Regions from separate parts of the Homo sapiens genome. Here region 1 is linked to region 2. The links are contacts of gene promoters, found by promoter capture Hi-C in human tissues and cell types (Jung and others, 2019). All regions are on one chromosome and are shown on one strand. Each heading gives the region's core, a stretch centred on a gene start or on the middle of the fragment in contact. The rest is flanking DNA. Distances are from core to core; before and after follow the strand shown.

Region 1 (5,074 bases), core at 1,997-4,496, 630 kb after region 2:
AAGTCTCAGGGTGCCAGTGATGTCAATGCCTAGAACATTAGGGCCGCTGTGTATTTTTTGGAAATTCTTTTCATCAAGGTGCCAACCTTGAGCCATATAGGTTTTGAATTTTCATATCATTCCAGGTGCCAAAGTTTACATCTATTGTGTGACAGGCACTTGGAATAAAATGTTGCAGAAGATTAATAAGGTCCTGCCTCAAAGAAATTGCATTTCAATGGAGGATGAAAGAAAATAAAAAGAAAAGATCACTTTGGAAATTGATCATTGCTGTGAATAAAAACATTGACTGGGAAAGCCTTTTGATAGGGTGATCTGATGAGTTCCTTCTACAAGGGGGATACTGGAGCAGCAACCTGGATGAAAAGAAAGAGACAGGTTAGAACAAGGAAAACTACAGGAGTAAAGGCCCTGAGGCAGGAATCAGCTCTGAGTTTCCAGGAAGAGAAAGAAGGCCAGTGTGGCTGGAAAATGGCGAGCATAGGCCAAAGTCAAAAGGTAGGCAGGGTGTAGGTCATGTGCAGCCCAGTAGGCCATGGCTAGTAGACAGAATCTTATTTCCAATATGGTGGAAAACAACTGGAGGCAGAGAATACATGCATGGATCTGGGGACAACAGTGTCAGCTGGGGGACAAGTGTGGAGGCTATTACAGAGGTTCAGGCAAAAGATAATGGCAGCTTAAACTAGAGTTGGGGAAGTTGGGGAGGAAAGGCCGGCAGTTCATTTATTCAAATACTTATTTAGTGTCCCCTGAGTGTCAGATACTTTCCTAGGTTCTCTTTTTTTCTCCATTTGAAAGTTTATCCTGAACATTTCAATCATAACCCTCACACAGCACTTAATACACTGTATTTTCGTTTACTTAATTGTTTGTTTCTATGTCTCTCTCACCTGTTAAATTATGAGCTCTCTGAGAACATGTATAGGATATAATTTATCTATTTCCAAAACCTAGCTCAGTGCCTGGAATCTAGAGGTCTCTCAATCAATGTGTTTTAGAGTTTAGTTGAAAAGATGAATTGAATTCAAGACTTCTATCTCACATCCTCAGGAAAAAAGCCTGTCATCAGGCCCTGCCAATTTGAATACATTTACCTTTTTTTTTAAAGTGCTCAAATAATTTCTTTTCAGGGTGGTGTGGTTTGCTGCCTGCCTATCAAAGATAAAAACAGCATTGATTAATATAAACAAAATTAGAAAAATATTTGGCTAAAATGTCTTGCTTTCTCAGTCATTTGCTATCAGCTTTCCTCCTTAAACATAGAAAAAGGTGACAAAATAAAAACTTTTTTCTCATCACTGATGGTATTCTTTATGATGTCCAAGATGAAGATATTTCTCTCTTCATATTAAACCAGGTAATGAGTTTAATTGTTTTTTCCTTCAAACGCGACATATTTTTAAGCCTTTTTTCCCCCTCAAATGCCGTAATTTAAATCATCAGACAATGACAATGCTGTGGTACGCTGAACAATGGGCCCACAAAGATATGAGGTCCTAATCCCTGGAACCCATAAATGTTACCTTATATAAAATGAGGGACTGTGCAGGCCAGGCAGGGTGGCTCACGCCTGCAATCCCAGCACTTTGGGAGGCTGAGGTGGGCGGATCATGAGGTCAGGAGTTTGAGACCAGCCTGGCCAACATGGTGAAACCCCGTCTCTACTAAAAATACAAAAACCACCTGGGTGTGGTGGCAGGTGCCTGTAATCCCAGCTACTTGGGAGGCTGAGGCAGGAGAATTGCTTGCTACTGGAAGGTGGGGGTTGCAGTGAGCTGAGGTTGCACCTCTGCCCCCCAGCCTGGGCAACAAGAGTGAAACTCCATCTCAAAAAAAAAAAAAAAAAAAAAGAGGGACTTTGCAGATGTGATTAGGTGAAAAATCTTGAGATAAGGAGATGACCCTGAATTATTCAGGTGGACCCTAAATGCAATCACTTCTATCCTTATGATGTACAGGCAGAGAGAGACTTGAATACACCCACAGAGTGGGGGATATGAAGGTGAAGCAAAGAGGGATTTAAGGATGTTGGCTTTGAAGACTAGAGTAATGCAGTCATAACATGAGGAATGCCAGCGGCTGCCAGAAGCTGGAAGAAGAAAACAAGAACAAGTTTTCTCCAACAGCCTCTGGGAAAAAAGAAGCCCTGCTGATACCTTGGTTTGGTGATACTGACTTTGGCCTCCAGAACTGGAAAATCATATATTTCGATTGTTTTAAACTTCCACATTTGTAGTAATTTGTTACAGCAGCTATAAGAAATGAATACAATCATGCTGTATACATTATAGACCTCCTTAGGAACTTTGTCCAGTGGTCCTTTCCCCTCAGGGTAGGGAGCGCTCCCATCTAGGCCACACTCCAGGCACCTGAGACACTGAAATCTGCCCTGATGGTCCCAAGACTGCCCCTGTGTCTCCACGAACCCCTTTCCTAAGTCTGCGATTGAGCCAGAGTGGATTAGCAGCTAGAGATCAGGGCATCTCAATCCCACTGCCTCTAAGTTAGTTGACACTGAACTTAGTTTCAAGAATTCCAAATTGAACTAGCCTTCTTGATCATTATGAACACATATTTGTCAAGACAGATGTATAGAACATGTTTCTTTAGCTGTCTGGTGACTTGCCGTAGAACTTTAGATATTCAGGCCCATGATATGCGGGCTCTGTTTGTGCTCTTATCCGGGACCCCACAAATATAAGAGCCTTGTGGCTAGGTCTGGGCTCAGCCAAGCCAGCAAAACTGATGCCATCACCAAAGACATTCAAATTGCAACCCAGTAAATCTGTCAGCCTGCCACAACTGTCCTCATTAAGATGCTTCAAGCCCAATGTCTGGACCTCAACTGGCTGCCCTCTGGATTTGGAAACTGGGTTTCCAACTATTAATATTTGGTTTTCTTTTTCTTTTCATGAAAATTCCCCTCACTAAATGTCTGGCTGCTGCTCTGACCATCCAGCAAATATCCTCTACTACCAAATGGTTCAGCTGACCCTTCATGAACAAAAGGTAACTGAATGAGAAAATGGACTTACAATGTTCAAAGGAAAGAAGAATGTCATCTCTTCTTTCTTTGAACAGAGGACGGACTGGCAAAGAGTCTCTTTTTGACCAAGCTTTTTTTTTTTTTTTTTTTTTTGAGACGGAGTCTCGCTCTGTCGCCCAGGCCGGACTGCGGACTGCAGTGGCGCAATCTCGGCTCACTGCAAGCTCCGCTTCCTGGGTTCACGCCATTCTCCTGCCTCAGCCTCCCGAGTAGCTGGGACTACAGGCGCCCGCCACCGCGCCCGGCTAATTTTTTGTATTTTTAGTAGAGACGGGGTTTCACCTTGTTAGCCAGGATGGTCTCGATCTCCTGACTTCATGATCCACCCGCCTCGGCCTCCCAAAGTGCTGGGATTACAGGCGTGAGCCACCGCGCCCGGCCTGACCAAGCTTTTTAACTGAACTTCAAGTCTTTTTTTTTCTAGACCTTAATTTTGCTTCATGAATAATACTAATAAAGGTGCAAATATAGACTAGTGAAGAAAATTTAAAGCATGTTTGAAACATTATAAACACATGGTTTATATATTTGCATAATATTTTAAATTATTATTTATAAATGCTTCTCACATCTCTTTGCCTTATTTGGAGCATTGCTATTGTGTTGTTAAGAACAAAAATAGCTACAGTATCATTCTTTATCATACATGATCTAGATGTTTTCTTTCTCTACTCCTGTTTTCCTCCCTTTAGAAAAATGTATCCATGGTTAACATTAAGAAGAAAATTAGCTGTAAAATCAAAAACACAACAATAGTCTAAGAGCCACAACCCACTGGAAAAGGCCACAGCATCGAACAGCTAAGCTAAAAATTCCATGTCTGGATACTTGGTTGAAATTCCCTCGCTCCCACTCAGCAAAGCATCCCCAGATGCCAAAGATTACGCATTCCACTTTATAAGGACTAACGCTGAATGCTTTTTAAATACAAAATTAAAAAGCAAGTCATTCATAAACTTCAGTACTCCATCAGTACCACATCGTTTTGTCATATGTTAACGCTAGAGTTGCGGAGAATGGTTACTTGGGATAAAAGATTTCATCTTTAGTTGATTTCCAGGACGAAGTGGTTCAATAGTTGTTCTGCTTCTTACAATTCTCAGAGAGTTTAAATTGCCCTTGAAATTCTCTTAATTGGTCCATGAGGTACAGTTATCCCGGTTTCAAGAGTATATTCCTATATGGAAATCTTTGTACACACTGAAGTTTGAGAACTGCGGGCTAGACTAAAATCAGGAACAAAAGGAAAGTCTATATGCAGATGCTCAGGCACTTAAATCACTGTGCCTTTCGGATATGATTAAACTCTACCAGTGAGTAGGGGGAGAAATCTAAATTACGCAGGCTCTCCTGCAGATACTACTCCATTTTTTGTTATAAGATTAAGCCTCCATGATCCTTATTTGCGAATAGGTTTATCATTGTAAAAATAAAAGCTCCGGGCAGACACAGAGAAAGAGACAGAGAGAAAGAGACTCTAAAGTCAGCTTCCTGGTTAAATGCATAATGCCGTATTGTCTTGATACAGCAGTTAAAAGTGGCCCTAAATTCCCGTGGAAGAGGAAGACAATGCACCAAAAGGGCCTTACAATTCTAACTTCAGTTAAAATCATTTATTTTGAACTTTGTTCTAACTTTCAGTGGAGGCTTTAATGACTCCAGTAAATGACAATGTGCTTGAATTTTCACTGGCATTTTCTATTGTCACAAGCTTTAAGTTTCTTCAGAGCCCCAATTCTCTTGCATTATATTTTTTAATACCTGTAATCAAGGCCTTAGCCCAGGTCCTAAGCAAAGCTAACAAATAATTATCTTTCACAATAGAGCTAAAAACAGGAACCTAATTAATTAAAGCACTAATTGAACTTCCCATTACTGATACATTTGTTCCTGCTCTGACATAAACATTAATCAAATTCACTGAATAATTCAGCTCTCCATTTCCCTCACCTGTGTAGACAAATCTGCCTGCTGTCCTGTAATGGTGAAAGATGAAAATGTTTTATGATGTCATTTGGTAATATC
Region 2 (5,006 bases), core at 2,507-5,006:
CGGGTTCAAGCAATTCTCCTGCCTCAGCCTCCCGAGTAGCTGGGACTACAGGTGCGCACCACCAAACCAGGCTAATTTTTGTATTTTTAGCAGAGACGGGGTTTCAGCCTGGTCTCAAACTCCTGACCTCGGGTGATCTGCCCAACTCGGCCTCCCAAAGTGCTGGGATTACAGGTGTGAGCCACCGTGCCCAACCTCTTTTTCTTTTTTTTTTTTTTGAGACTGGGTCTCACTCTGTTGCCCAGGTTGGAGTGCAGTGGCACCATTATGGCTCACTGCAGCCTTGACCTCCTGGGGTCAGGTAATTCTCCCATCTCAGTCTCCCGAGTTGCTGGGACTACAGGCATGCACTGCCACACTTGGCTAATTTTTTTGTAGTTTTTGTAGAGATGGGGTTTTGCCATGTTGCCCAGGTTGGTCTCAAGCTCCTAGGCTCAAGTGATATGCCCACCTCAGCCTCCCAAAGTGTTGGGATTACAGGCATGAGCCACCGTGCCCGGCCATAAGTAGTCTTGTATCTTTTTGAGATTGTTAAAGCAAGTTGTTTTTCCTTCCTGTTAGAACTTTATCATTTCATCTCAGTTTCTAAACTAAGTAGAGCGGTTACTCTTGGAGGTTTTTGGGCTGTGTAATGGGTTCATGCATATTCATTATATTAAAACATAGGACATTTAAAAGGGCCACTTGGACTAACAATGGCAGCATATCTTAAATCAAGGATTATGAGTAACCTGAATCTATAATCTCAAGTTCTATTGAAAATGCATATTTGTTCAAAATATGAGGGAGTGAATCTATCTTGGTGCCCAGGGGCAAACATTTTCCAAAGGTGAATCTTCTAGGATTCACACAGATAGGCCCAAATGGGAACTGTTCAGGTAACCCAGCCTTGCATCTTTCCCCAGTTCAGACTCTGGAAGAAAGTCCTTGAAGATCTCTGGACATTTGTCCAGGATTAAGCAAAAGCCACAGCAAGTTTCTTTCACTCGCATCAGTGTGAAGAGACCACCAAACAGGCTTTGTGTGAGCAATAAAGCTTTTTAATCACCTGGGTGCAGGCGGGCTGAGTCCGAAAAGAGAGTCAGTGAAGGGAGATAGGCGTGGGGCCGTTTTATAGGATTTGGGCAGGTAAAGGAAAATTACAGTCAAAGGGGGTTGTTCTCTGGTGGGCAGGTGTGGAGGGGGGGATCACAAGGTGCTCAGTGGGGGAGCTTTTTGAGCCAGGATGAGCCAGGAGAAGGAATTTCACAAGGTAATGTCATCAGTTAAGGCAGGACCTGCCATTTTCACTTCTTTTGTAGTGGAATGTCATCAGTTAAGGCAAGGACCAGCCATCTGGATGTGTACATGCAGGTCACAGGGGATATGATGGCTTAGCTTTGGCTCAGAGGCCTGACAGTTTCCAATAGAACATAACAGGCAGCAGAGAAGACAGAGACTGAAAGAGCATCCTGGGGGAGATGGAATTGTGACAAACTAAACCAGTGAGCCGAAATTAAGGCTAGCCCTGTGGCATGACTGGCTCTTGTGCAAGTGACATTATTATGTGACATATTATATGTCTGGGTCATTACTATGCTAAAATAAGTAGATTAAAATGAAAGGAATTTCCAAACAAATGCGGGAAGGAAGGCATTATGAAGTTTTCAGATGTCATTAGCTATAACAAAGTTCAGAATTAATCATGACACCATGCAAAATGGGAAAAATTTGCAAGCAAGGAGAGGGTGGAGATGCCAGAACCCGTAAATTTATGCCAGCTGAGCACTGTGGGGGCACCTGGCAAATGGATTTACTATTTTGCCAACACCAGTAAAGTGTTACAAAATTGCAAACGGAATTATTTCTATGCAAACAATTGTTTTTAAAAAGGGTCCCTACATCGACTAATGCAATTCAGTTTTTTTCTGGGTAAGCACAAAGCCAGAAACTAAATGAAAAATATTAGAAATTATTTTTCTTGGAATCATGTTGAATATTAAAATTGAGATTTACTTTCCTCCCCAATTCCCTCTCTCTCCCATCAGTCTTTTCATGCACCAATGTCATTTTAGTTTTCGTGGTAAAAGAGGTGGTGAAAAAGGGGCAGGGGCATTTGAGAGAGTAGGCGAAGGGAGGCTGGGGATTCCAGAAAAGGAAAAGATGGGGAGTCGCTCAATTAAACTCTACCACCTTCATCTGTTAACAGGGATTCTTGCCTGTCTCGACCCACTTCCAGAGGCAATGCCATATTATTTGAGAAAGCTGGATATAAAATTTGAGCTCTGCTGTCCTTGTCCCAATCCCCCTCCCCAGGAGAAAAAATAAGCTGAACTGTACTCGTGACATTATGGGTTTTTCTGGAAAACAAGGATAAATAAGTTTTTTGAACATTTTTCTCCCCTGAAACTAAATCCGTAAGAGAGTTAAAAACCCGTGGAAAGCGAGTTAAGTCACTTTTCAAGTCTTTGTACTCAGGGGATTCTGTAAGACTCATGGAAGAATAATGGCGCAAACAGCAATATTTTAATGTTAGAACGGTCCTCTGAAAAGTCTGCCCGAAACGCTACAAAGATAATTGTGCAGTAACTTCTAAAAACTCTACTGGGACAGGAGGCAACAAAACTCCGGATCAGCGAGAGCTCTGTTTATCCGAGGGTGCTGAGCCTCAGGCCCCACGGAGATTCCCTTTTCGGCACTTGGAGGCCTGAACTCAGGTCTAACCTTTCGTGTGCGCGCTCTGATACTCAACCACCGTTCAGTCTCCGGAGGCTGTTACAACTGTCCCCATTCTACAGATGAAGTTGAGGCTACAGCTTAGTGTTCTTGGGGAGGGAGGGAGTTGGGGGGAGAGAGAGACGCTTTTCCTCATAACCTTAAACAAAAGTACTTAAACCTAAAGCAACTGAAAAATGATTTTCTTTCAACAACGGTGTTTCCTTTGGGGTCAAGTTCTTTGATCTCATCTACAAAACCAAGAAGCGGGACAAGTATTTTTCTGCAAATTAGAACGGGGCGTTCCCCTCCCCCATCACCCCAATTCCAGAGGACGTCAATCACAGTGGACGCAGCACCGCGAGCGGAAATGCGGAGAGCATCGGGGCTCCGCATGTGGGGCACAATGAAACAAGAGCAGCCCCGGCCAGAGGTCCAGTAAAGCGGAAAGACGGTCCCGCCCGCACACCCCTCCGGAAAACTGAAGCGTCTCCTCTGACCCCCAAGGTCAGAAAGATTTATTACTTCCTTCGAGAGGGCGCAGCCACAGACCCACTAGAGAGGGCGGGCAGGGTGTCGGAAGCCAGAGAACGGCGCTCCGCGTCCTCCCACCGCTCCAGGGCGCAGAGGTGTCCTCAGTGCCCGGAGAGGTTGGCAGTGTCGGCCCCGAGGGAAGCGTGGAGCGGACGGCCGACAGGGGATTTCTGCCCAAACTTCATCACCAACTCTTTCTGAGAGCAAAAACATGGGGCCGAGTCCGGCAGCTGCACGCAGAATCCAACTCTCTGGCAGCTCTCGGCACCGACGAGCTCCAGATCCCGCGTTCGCATCCCGGCGCTTTGCGCGCAGAGCTAAGCCTTCGGACCCGTGGACTGCAGCCCCCGCGCGTCGCGGTAAAGCGGGTCGCGTCTCCAGCCCCCGAGGCGCAGCGACGGTGGGAGCCGGCTCGGCGTTGGGGGCGGGGGCGGGGCCGGCGAAGGGGGAGGGCTGCGCGGCGGAGGGGAGGAGCCGCGGCGACAGACGGCGGCGCGCACCAACCGGGCGCCGGCTGGCAGGAGCCGCGCAGAGGCTGGTCCGAGCGCGTTGCGGGCGCCCGGCGTAAGGGGAGTCGGGTAGCAGCATCCTCCTGGGCGCCGCTTTCGCGCGGCGGCGGCGGCTGCGGCGGGGTCTTTCTTTGCTTAAATACCTCGTTGGCCAGAAGCGCTGGTACCGGGGGCGGGTTGGGTCGGGTCGGGCAGTGCTGCACACCTGGGTTTCCTTGCCTAGAGCTGTGTGTTCGGGGTCCTTTGGTCCAGTCGGAGGCTGCGGAGCGGCGGGGGTTGCCTGCGCTGTCCGCCCGGGCATCCTCCCGGTGATGGAAGCAGCCGCCGCCGCCGCTGCGGGGTCGCGCTGTGCCCCATCCACCGCTGCCAGAGAGGTGGGAAAATTCGCCGCACGGAGGCCGAAAGCGAGAGGGGCTGCGCCGCTATGCCGGGAGCTGAGTCCCATATAAGCCGCCCCCAGCCATCGCCCCCAGCCGGCTTCGTTCCCCTGAGCGAGACAGGAAGCTGCGGTCCCGAGAAAGCGGAGGAGACGTCGCTGGAGCCGGGAGGCGCCGGGTTCGGCGGAGCGCGGAGCGGGGCTCTGGGCCGCGTGAAAGTTTTTCTTCCCGAGCCGCAGGGCGCCCGCTGCCCGGAAACTGCCCAGGGATAAGTCGGCCGACTCCCCAGACCCCTCGAAGGTGCGGGGACCCCCAGCGGAAGCGAGAGGGAGCGAAATCGAGGAACGAGTGACAGCCGGACAGTCCGCCGGGCGGTGATCCGGGGCCGCTCCCGGGCGCGCCCTCGGCTCCAGGTGAGCGGAGGAACCGGGCAGAACCGAGGGTGGGCGTTACTTAGGAGGAGGAGGCTGGGAGGGAGATTGGGGCGCATCCGCTCACTCCGCTTCCCCTCGCAGGTCCTACCCGGAGCCGCTGCCATGGGAGAGCCAGCCTTGGGCGCTGGGGACCAGCCGCCGCGCCCGCCTCGGAGTCGCGGCCCGAGTCCCGGCGCCAGCAGCCAGCCCGCTGCGTCCCCTTCCCGGGCTGCAGGGCTGCCTCCGCCGCGCCGCCGGCCCGGATTGTGCCTGTGATGAGCCGCAGCCCGCAGCGAGCTCTGCCCCCGGGCGCGCTCCCTCGGCTGCTCCAGGCTGCGCCTGCAGCCGCGCCGCGTGCCCTGCTCCCGCAGTGGCCCCGGCGCCCAGGACGCCGCTGGCCCGCGTCCCCTCTCGGAATGAAGGTGTTCCGTAGGAAGGCGCTGGTGTTGTGCGCGGGCTATGCACTGCTGCTGGTGCTC

What was found. The method cuts DNA at HindIII sites, captures the fragments that hold promoters and counts their contacts. A contact is called where the count stands out against the background at its distance.
Region 1: a contact is called between a fragment that was not itself captured here and the fragment with the promoter of CHST2 in region 2, in 1 of the 25 tissues and cell types used here (dorsolateral prefrontal cortex).

Annotation. Positions count from the first base shown.
Region 1 is chr3:143,745,573-143,750,646 of GRCh38, forward strand. The region is part of intron 4 of SLC9A9 (solute carrier family 9 member A9); the gene reads right to left. Among named protein-coding and RNA genes, the nearest start is that of SLC9A9, 100 kb to the right of the region's middle. The HindIII fragment of the contact is 3,672 bases long and covers 1,411-5,074 here.
Region 2 is chr3:143,116,015-143,121,020 of GRCh38, forward strand. It overlaps CHST2 (carbohydrate sulfotransferase 2), which reads left to right and starts at 3,757. Exons shown (of 2, transcript NM_004267.5): 1 at 3,757-4,527; 2 at 4,630-5,006. The coding sequence starts at 4,803. RefSeq lists enhancers at 2,813-3,314, 2,990-3,119, 3,315-3,814, 4,100-4,149, 4,473-5,006 and silencers at 3,580-3,869, 4,360-4,409, 4,440-4,489, 4,540-4,619, 4,680-4,879 and 1 more. The HindIII fragment of the contact is 8,898 bases long and covers 1-5,006 here.